2 separate regions of the Homo sapiens genome follow, and region 1 is linked to region 2. Evidence: promoter capture Hi-C in 16 types of primary human blood cells and fetal thymus (Javierre and others, 2016). All regions are on one chromosome and are shown on one strand. Each heading gives the region's core, a stretch centred on a gene start or on the middle of the fragment in contact. The rest is flanking DNA. Distances are from core to core; before and after follow the strand shown. Region 1 has its middle 38 kb from the start of MAP9-AS1. Region 2 holds the start of FGA (fibrinogen alpha chain).

The links. Contacts are between HindIII fragments. The CHiCAGO score rates a contact against its expected background, and 5 or more counts as called.
Region 1: a fragment that was not itself captured here is called in contact with the fragment with the promoter of FGA in region 2 in 3 of 17 cell types (total CD8 T cells, naive CD8 T cells and activated CD4 T cells); the score reaches 6.9 in total CD8 T cells.

Annotation. Positions count from the first base shown.
Region 1 is chr4:155,312,783-155,319,901 of GRCh38, reverse strand. No RefSeq gene overlaps it. Among named protein-coding and RNA genes, the nearest start is that of MAP9-AS1, 38 kb to the left of the region's middle. The HindIII fragment of the contact is 1,910 bases long and covers 585-2,494 here.
Region 2 is chr4:154,589,492-154,591,991 of GRCh38, reverse strand. It overlaps FGA (fibrinogen alpha chain), which reads left to right and starts at 1,250. Exons shown (of 5, transcript NM_021871.4): 1 at 1,250-1,358; 2 at 2,430-2,500. The coding sequence starts at 1,305. The HindIII fragment of the contact is 3,315 bases long and covers 1-2,290 here.

The sequences.
Region 1 (7,119 bases), core at 290-2,789, 730 kb before region 2:
TCCCATCTTCCTTTTCTTCAAGCATTTACAGTAGAAAATTTGCTGTTGTAAATTCTTTCTCTGCCCTTTTGAAATGTAAATCTTCTCCCAGCCTTTTATCAGTTTGACAATCCAGGAATGTCTTTCTTAAGTACCTGGGATTCATTCCTTTGCAGTGCAATCATCAAGAAAAATTGCATCCCTATCTTCCAGTCTCTGGGGTAAGGTAGAAGCTTAACTTCCATAAGTGCCAAATTAGCAACACAAATGATCTGACCACATAGACACCTTAAGTTCCTCCAATACTTTTCTACTTGTTCATCCCCATAAGAAAAACACTCCAGGGTTCTGTGTTACGGGAGTTGAGTTCATTTTCTCTCTCTCTTTCTCTCTCTCTCTCTTCTATTGCAATAGTCTTGAATAAAGTCTTCCTTCCCTGCTTAATATGTCTGGTGTAATGTTTCTTTGACACTCCAGAGGAATGTAAGCTCTGTGAGGTGAGTGATCAGCCTGTTTTGTCATTGTTGTGTCTCTATCACCAATGCACTCACTCGTTATTTATTGGATCCATAAATCATGTCTTCTCGAGTCAATTGGACCAAGCTTTGAATCCTGCCTTTTATTAGCTATGTGGCTTTGAACAACTTGCTAATTCTCTAATTTTCAGTTTAGCTCAGTAAAATGGGGAAAAAGAAAAGCAATCTAATATCATGAATTTGCTACAAAGATTATACAGTGTATTAATATACATAAAGCATTCGCAATAAGTGAAACCTTTTGTAATTATTGTTATTGTTTTATCTGGTGAACTTAAGAGTGTTATATGTGGGCATTTTAAAAGGCCATGCTTTCATAAAAACAAAAATGAGGAATAGAGAAAGTCCAGGAAAAATGAAAAGGACAGAGTAGCTGATAAAAAAATCCAAAAATTGAGAGGGAGAAGGTAGGTAGGCTTCAGGAAAAAAACTAAATAGTATGTGATACAACAGGCTAAGTGGAATTCTACAGTTTTATTATGCCTGTTTCTCAGGTAGAATAAGACAGTGTGCCTCCATACCAATTGTTACCATGGGTTAGCTCTGTAGCTCATTGAAAGGTGTGGCAACATTCCCAGAAGGATGGCCTTCTTAGGCTGTGCCTTCTGGGTGGTCCAGTAATGCTTTTTACAGGGTCATCTGTCTGGAACTCATCACAAGAGTGAGCAACACCCAGTCTAACCCACCCCTATATTCCTCTGAGACTTGGTTCCTGAACTATCACGGAAATAATAATATCTCCTATAATAAAGACAGAAGGGGCCAGGCACGGTGGCTCACGCCTGTAATCCCAGCACTTTGGGAGGACAAGGCAGGTGGATCAGGAGGTCAGGAGATCGAGACCACCCTGGCTAACAAGGTGAAGCCTCGTCTGTACTAAAAAATACAAAAATTAGCCAGGCGTGGTGGTGGGCACCTGTAGTCCCAGCTACTCGGGAGGCTGAGACAGGAGAATGGCGTGAACCCAGGAGGCAGAGCTTGCAGTGAGCCAAGACTGTGTCACTGCACTCCAGCCTGGGCAACAGAGCAAGACTCCGTCTCAAAAAAAAAAAGAAAGAAAGAAAGAAGGCATATTTAATGCATGTTCAAACAGTAAAATACAGTGTTGCAGCCAAGGGAAATATTTAATGGCATTAGAAAGAAGAACACTTTTATCAGGAAAGAATGCAACTAGGAGGCCAGTTTTAGTTCAGCCTTATTATGGAAATCTGTCCTTCCCACTGTGGAAGCGTGGCAGAGAGACATACAAGTTATGACCAGAGAGATTTAGGCATTTAAAAAGAAAGGAGCACATGGGTGACTTTACACAGAAGTAAATTATCCCTGAGGCCATAATAGCAGAGGGCTATTGAAAAAGAGGGAAACCCCTAAAGAACCAAATTATATAAATCTATGTAGGCAGGACAAGCAGTGAAAAGGGTTCTAGAAAGGTATGAAGATATAACATACGAGCTGTGAATGGAAATATGGAAAATTTCTGCCACTGATTCTGTGCTAGGGATATGAAATGTTATATTTTGAGACTCCATAAAATGGAATTTGTGAACAAAATGGTGAAAGCCTAATAAGATACAAACTTGACCATGGCAGAAATGTCCTGTAGACAAATTTAGCTCAGGATCTATCACTCATTTCTAGTGATTCTCTATACATGTGTGTTTGGGGAGAGAGGGGCAAGGAGTGAAGAGGGAAAGTCGGACATTAATACCAAAAAGATACTGTATGGTAGTCATGAATTTTGTATATATTTTCCTCTTCAACCTATAGTATAGTAAATTACACGTGGTTTCATTCATTTGTGTAGTTTCACTCATTTTTAGTTTTTTATTTCATTTCCTTTACCCAAGGAAATGAAGCTCCCAGAGATTTACATAAGTTAATATCCAGACCAAGTAGATGCCAGATGCCCATTTCAGCCAAGATGATGATGCCCAGAGAATTACCTTTTAGAGCCCCCCACCCACTGCTTGTACTAAGCTTATTTCTCATTTATCCTAAATTTTCAGACTCTCCTTAAACTTTATTATAGAAGAAAGTAAAAGTCATGGAATTACAGCCACAACTGTTCCCCAGGGTTAAATCTTCAGTTCTTTATCCACTTCATGCAGTGTATTACTTTTTGAGATGTAACTTAAACCAAACAATTAATCTCTTATGACACAGTGATATTCTTACACATATATACACATCTCCCTTTTGATCTGAAGGCCCACACAATCTTCCATGCCTTATGGGATCAACGCTACCTCTTCCTTATTAACCCTTTGCATTATCATTTATGTGACACTCTTGCAGTTTTTAGAGCTGCCAAGTAGTTTTCAAAAAACTCTGAAAACTATGCCATAAAATTTCAGAAATTATTTTGTTACCATTAATAACATAAAACTTTGTAACATTCTATTTATGGAGATAGAGAAACACAGTTATATAAAAATCTATTTCATAGTTTTACATTGCATTTTTTCAATTTATGCATGATGACAGTCCAATCACTAGTTAGAAGATAATATTTTCTTTTTGCTCATTTGCTTATTCAGCAACTAATTGCTGAATGCTACCTTATGCCAGGTATTTCTTCTAGTTGCTTCAGATACATCAATGGCAAAACAGACAAAAATTCCTGCTCACATGCAGCTTACATTCTAGCATCACTGAAAAACAAAACAAAACAAAAACCAGAAAGCAGCTATGAGGTTAGTCACTAGGAAAGACCCCTTCCTAAAGAACCAGTTTACTGATGTGAAGGTCCAAATGTGTACTCCCAGTTTTGTCTTGGTTCAGGTTAATATAATCTTACTCCAAGAGTTTAATAGATTAACATGATGAAATAATTGTCCTTGTTCATGCAAGTGTCTAATGACACAGAGCTGCTAACATAATACAACAGCACATCTTATTCATGCAGGTGCTCAATGGAGGCAGCTCTGTTGGCAGTGACTTTATTCCACGAGGTGCTTCAGCAACCTAGGTCCTTCCACCCTGTCTTTCCACTGTTTCTTAGCATCTCAGAGTCTTCTCCATTCAGTAGATGGAAAAAATGTGTGGAGAAAGACAACCTTCTCCTTTACAGGATTAGCCTGTGTATTAGTTTGTTCTCACACTGCTAATAAAGACATACCCAAGACTAGGTAATTTATAAAGGAAAGAGGTTTAATGGACTCACAGTTCCACATGGCTGGGGAAGCCTCATAATCATGGTGGAAGATTAAGAAAGAGAAAAGGGATGTATTTCATGGTAGCAGTAAAGAGAGCATGTGCAGGGGAACTGCCCTTTATAAAACCATCAGATCTGTGAGACTTATTCACTATCACAAAAATGGCATGGGATTCAATTATCTCCCACCAGGTCCCTCCCATGACATGTGGGGATTATTACAATTCAAGGTAAGATTTGGGTGGGAACACAGAACCAAACCATATAATTCTGCCCCGGCCCCTCCCAAATCTCACATCCTTTTAAAAACCAATCATGCCTTCCAACAGTCCCCCAAAGTTTTAACTCATTCAGCATCAACCCAAAAGTCCACAGTCCAAAGTCTCATCTGAGACAAGGCAAGTCCCTTCTGCCTATGAGCCTGTAAAATCAAATGCAAGTTAGTTACTTCCTAGATACCATGGGAGTACAAGCACTGGGTAGATACAGCCATTCAAAATGGGAGAAATTGGCCAAAACAAAGGGGCCAACAGGTCCTATGCAAGTCTAAGATCCAACAAGGCAGTCAAATCTTAAAGCTCCAAAATGATCTCAGTTGACTCCATGTCTCATATCTAGGTCACACTGATGCAAGAGGTGGGCTCCCATGTCCTTGGGCAGCTCCACTCCTGTGGCTTTGCAGGGTACTGTCCCGCTCCTGGCTGCTTTCATGGACTGGCATTGAGTGTCTGCAAATTTTCCAGGTGCACAGTGCAAGATATTGGTGGATCTACCATTCTAGGGTCTGGAAAATGGTGGTCCTCTTCTCACAGCTCCACTAGGCAGTGCCCCTGTAGGGATTCTGTGGGTCCTCCAACTCCACATTTCCCTCTGCACTGCCCTAGCAGAGGTTCTCCATGAGGGCCCTGCCCTTGCAGCAAACTTCTGCCTGGACATCCAGGCATTTCCACACATCCTCTGAAATCTAGGAGGAAGTTCTCAAACCTCAATTCTTGACTTCTGTGCACCTGCAGGATCAACACCACATGAAAGCTGCCAAGGCTTGTGGCTTGCACCCTCTGGAGCCACAGCCTGAGCTGTACCTTGGCTCCTTTTAGCCACAGCTGGAACAGCTGGGACACATGCCACCAAGTCCCTAGGTAGCACACAGCAGGAGGGGCCTGGGCCCAGCCCGTGAAGCCATTTTTTCCTCCTAGGTCTCCATGCCTATGATGAGAGGGACTGCTGCAAAGGTCTCTGACATGCCCTAGAGACATTTTCCCCATGGCCTTAGTGGTTAACATTGGGCTCCTTGTTAGTTACGCAAATTTCTACATCAGGCTTGAATTTCTCCCCAGAAAATGGGCTTTTGTTTTTTATTGCATCATCAGGCTGAAAATTTTCTAAACTTTTACGCTCTTCTTCCTCTTGAACAGTTTATCACTCAGAAATTTCTTCCACCAGATACCCTAAATCATCTCTCTCAAGTTCAAAGTTCCACATATTTCTAGGACAGGGGCAAAATGCCACCAGTCTTTAAGTATAGCAAGAGTGATCTTTACTCCTCCAGTTCCCAACAATTTCCTTGTCTCCATCTGAGACCACCTCAGCCTTGATCTTATTGTCCATATCACTATCAGCATTTTGGTCAAAGCCATTCAACAAGTCTCTAGGAAGTTCCAAACTTTCCCACATCTTCCTGTCTTCTGAGCCTTTCAACTCTTTAGCAGATTTCAAACTTTCCCACATTTTCCTATCTTCTTCTGAGCCCTCCAAAATGTTCCAACTTCTGCCTGTTACTTTGTTCTAAAATCACTTCCACATTTTCGGGTATCTTCACAGCAATGCCCAACTACCTGATACCAATTTACTGTATTAGTCTATTCTCACATTGCTAATAAAGACATACGTGAGACTGGGTAATTTAAGGAAATAAATAAAGGAAAGAGGTTTAAAGGACTCACAGTTTCACATGGCTGGGGCGGCCTCACAATCATGGCAGAAGATGAAGGAAGGGCAAAGGGTTGCCTTGCCCCTGCAAGAAGGCATGTGCAGTGGAACTGCCCCTTATAAAACCTTCAGATCTCATGAGACTTATTTACCATCAGGAGACCAACTTACGGGAAAAACCTCCCCCATGATTCAATTACCTTCCAACTGGTCCCTCCCATGATACATGGGGATTGTTACAATTCAAGGTGAGAGTTGGGTGGGGACACAGAACCAAACCATATCAGCCTGAAACTAACATTTCTTCTGCTCAAATTTTATTTGTGAGAATTAGTCACATTGCCCCGCCTGAAGGTAAGGAATAGGGATCTGGGACAGGTAGTCCCTGGCTAGGCAGCTGCATCCAGCTGACAGCTCTATAACATGAAAGGAGAAGCACAAGTTTTGGTCCACGGAGAGCAGTCTCTACTATAATTGCTACTGCAAACATAGACTATGTTTTTCTCTGCATGTCAGACATAAAAGCTTATTAAGCAAAATACCTGAGAAGTTACTGTTGCCATGAACAAGCATCCAAACATGCAGCAGTGCTCAGGAACACCTCTCAACATGTATGTAATACTCAGTATTATATTTTCTGCAGTAATCTAGGAATTATTTATCTTATCACAAGGAATATTTACTGTGGTAGTTAATTTTATATGCCACCTTCACTAGGCTATTGTTATAGACTGAATGTGTGTGCTCACCCAAAATTCATATGTTGAAACCAAATCCCTAATGTGATGATATTAGAAGGTGGGGTCTTTGAGAGCTGATTAGGCCATGTGGGTGGAGCCCTCATGAATGGAATTAGTGCTCTTATGAAAGAGGCACCAGAGACCTCTCAACCCCTTCCACCATATTCAGGGAGAAAACTGCCATCCATGAAGCAGAAAGTGGGCCCTCACTAGACGTCTAATTTGCCAGAGCTGATATTGGACTTCCAATACTCTAGAAGTGAGAGGAAGAAATTTCTATCGTTTTTTAAGCACCTCAGTTTATGGTATTTTGTTTAGCAGCCCAAATGGACTAAGACAGCATGGTGACCAATTGTTTGGTCAAACACCAGCCCAGAGGTTGCTGTAAAAGTATTTTATAGATGTAATTAACATTTACAATCAATTGATTTTAAGTGAAGAAGATTATCCTTGATAATATGGGTGTACATCTACCAATCAGTTGGAGGCGTTAAGAGTGAAAACTGAGGTTTCCAGAAGAAGGAATTCTGCCTCAGGAATGCAACATCTACCCTTGCCTAAGTTTCCAAATTGTCAGATTGCACCATGAATTTCAGATTTCCAGGCCCCACTAACTCCTGAGCCACTCCTCCTCGACCCTCTGTTTCAAACTCTATTTCTCTCTCTCTCTTATTGGTTGAACCCTAGGAATCTATGAATATGATTTCTTCTATCAGCTAAAATAGATGCCTGAATAATGCCCGCTAAACGTTCTGAGAACCAGTTGTTAAGTAGGTTAAGA
Region 2 (2,500 bases), core at 1-2,500:
TATTTGTCTTTCTTTTCCGTTTTTTTTTTTTTTTTTGAGAAGGAGTCTCACTCTGTGGCCCAGGCTGGAGTGCAATGATGCAATCTCGGCTCACTGCAACCTCCTCCACCTCCCGCGTTCAAGTGATTCTCCCTGCCTCAGCCTCCTGAGTAGCTGGGATTACAGGTGCCTGTCACCACGACCAGCTAAGCAGTATTTGTCTGTCTATATCTGCTCATTTCACTTAGGATAATGCCCTCTAGGTTCATCAATGTTACTGCAAATGACAGAATTTCCTTCTTTTTCAAGGCTGAGTAATACTCCATTGTGTATATATATATATACACATTTTCTTTATCTACTCATCCATCAGTGGAAACAGGTTGTTTTCATATCTCGGCTATTGTCAATATAGCTACAATGAACATGGGAATGCAGGTGTCTCTTCAAGATCCTGATTTCATTTCCTTTGGAAATACACTCAGAAATGAGATTGCTAGCACAGAAACAGGAAATAAATGGTATTTTTCATGGCACTTTATGATCTCCCATAATTCACTGAGTATTTCCTATGTGACAGTCACTGTTCTGAGAGATTTACAAGAATTAACTCATTTATTCTTCATAAAAGCATGGGGTAGCTTATCAGCATCCTTATTTTATAAATGAGGAAACTGAAGTATAAAGAGGTAAAGTAACTTGTCCAAGAACATAGAGCAGGGAAGTGGTGCAGCTTGGATTATGAACCCAAGATGTTTTGTTCCTGGGGCTGCTGTCATCTTAATATTTTAAATAGAGAAAAGTAATATGTTCTAAATAAACTTATAGAAAGCCTTCAGGGCCAGCTTATCCCCAAAGTTATTTTTTTTATAAGCCAGATCACCCAACCCTAATTTCTGCATAAAGTGAAATATTGTTTGCTAAATCACTACTACTGGGGGCTACAGCTAGCTTACCTAAGCACCTTCTATATTCTTTCACGTTTAGAAATATGGATATACCCTCCTATGCTCCTCTTTTCATTCTCAAAGCCACCCTGTTCCTGGAATGTGAGATCTCCTAATTGTTGACTGGAGAATCAAATGCTACCTTTGCAACAGCTTATCGGAAGCAAACAAGCTGAGGGGAATTGAGCAAGAATTTCTGGGATACCAACAGCATAGGAGGAACAAAGGACGTAGAGGGAGGGTTGACTGTCTACACAGGACAAAGCCAATGATTAACCAAACCTCTTGCAGATTTAAATAGGATGGGAACTAGGAGTGGCAGCAATCCTTTCTTTCAGCTGGAGTGCTCCTCAGGAGCCAGCCCCACCCTTAGAAAAGATGTTTTCCATGAGGATCGTCTGCCTGGTCCTAAGTGTGGTGGGCACAGCATGGGTATGGCCCTTTTCATTTTTTCTTCTTGCTTTCTCTCTGGTGTTTATTCCACAAAGAGCCTGGAGGTCAGAGTCTACCTGCTCTATGTCCTGACACACTCTTAGCTTTATGACCCCAGGCCTGGGAGGAAATTTCCTGGGTGGGCTTGACACCTCAAGAATACAGGGTAATATGACACCAAGAGGAAGATCTTAGATGGATGAGAGTGTACAAACTCACAAGGGAAACTTTAGCATCTGTCATTCAGTCTTACCACATTTTGTTTTGTTTTGTTTTAAAAAGGGCAAGAATTATTTGCCATCCTTGTACCTATAAAGCCTTGGTGCATTATAATGCTAGTTAATGGAATAAAACATTTTATGGTAAGATTTGTTTTCTTTAGTTATTAATTTCTTGCTACTTGTCCATAATAAGCAGAACTTTTAGTGTTAGTACAGTTTTGCTGAAAGGTTATTGTTGTGTTTGTCAAGACAGAAGAAAAAGCAAACGAATTATCTTTGGAAATATCTTTGCAGTATCAGAAGAGATTAGTTAGTAAGGCAATACGCTTTTCCGCAGTAATGGTATTCTTTTAAATTATGAATCCATCTCTAAAGGTTACATAGAAACTTGAAGGAGAGAGGAACATTCAGTTAAGATAGTCTAGGTTTTTCTACTGAAGCAGCAATTACAGGAGAAAGAGCTCTACAGTAGTTTTCAACTTTCTGTCTGCAGTCATTAGTAAAAATGAAAAGGTAAAATTTAACTGATTTTATAGATTCAAATAATTTTCCTTTTAGGATGGATTCTTTAAAACTCCTAATATTTATCAAATGCTTATTTAAGTGTCACACACAGTTAAGAAATTTGTACACCTTGTCTCCTTTAATTCTCATAACAACTCCATAAAATGGGTCCTAGGATTTCCATTTGAAGATAAGAAACCTGAAGCTTGCCGAAGCCCTGTGTCTGCTCTCCTTAATCTCTGTGAGAGTGCCATCTCTTCCTGGGGACTTGTAGGCATGCCACTGTCTCCTCTTCTGGCTAACATTGCTGTTGCTCTCTTTTGTGTATGTGAATGAATCTTTAAAGACTGCAGATAGTGGTGAAGGTGACTTTCTAGCTGAAGGAGGAGGCGTGCGTGGCCCAAGGGTTGTGGAAAG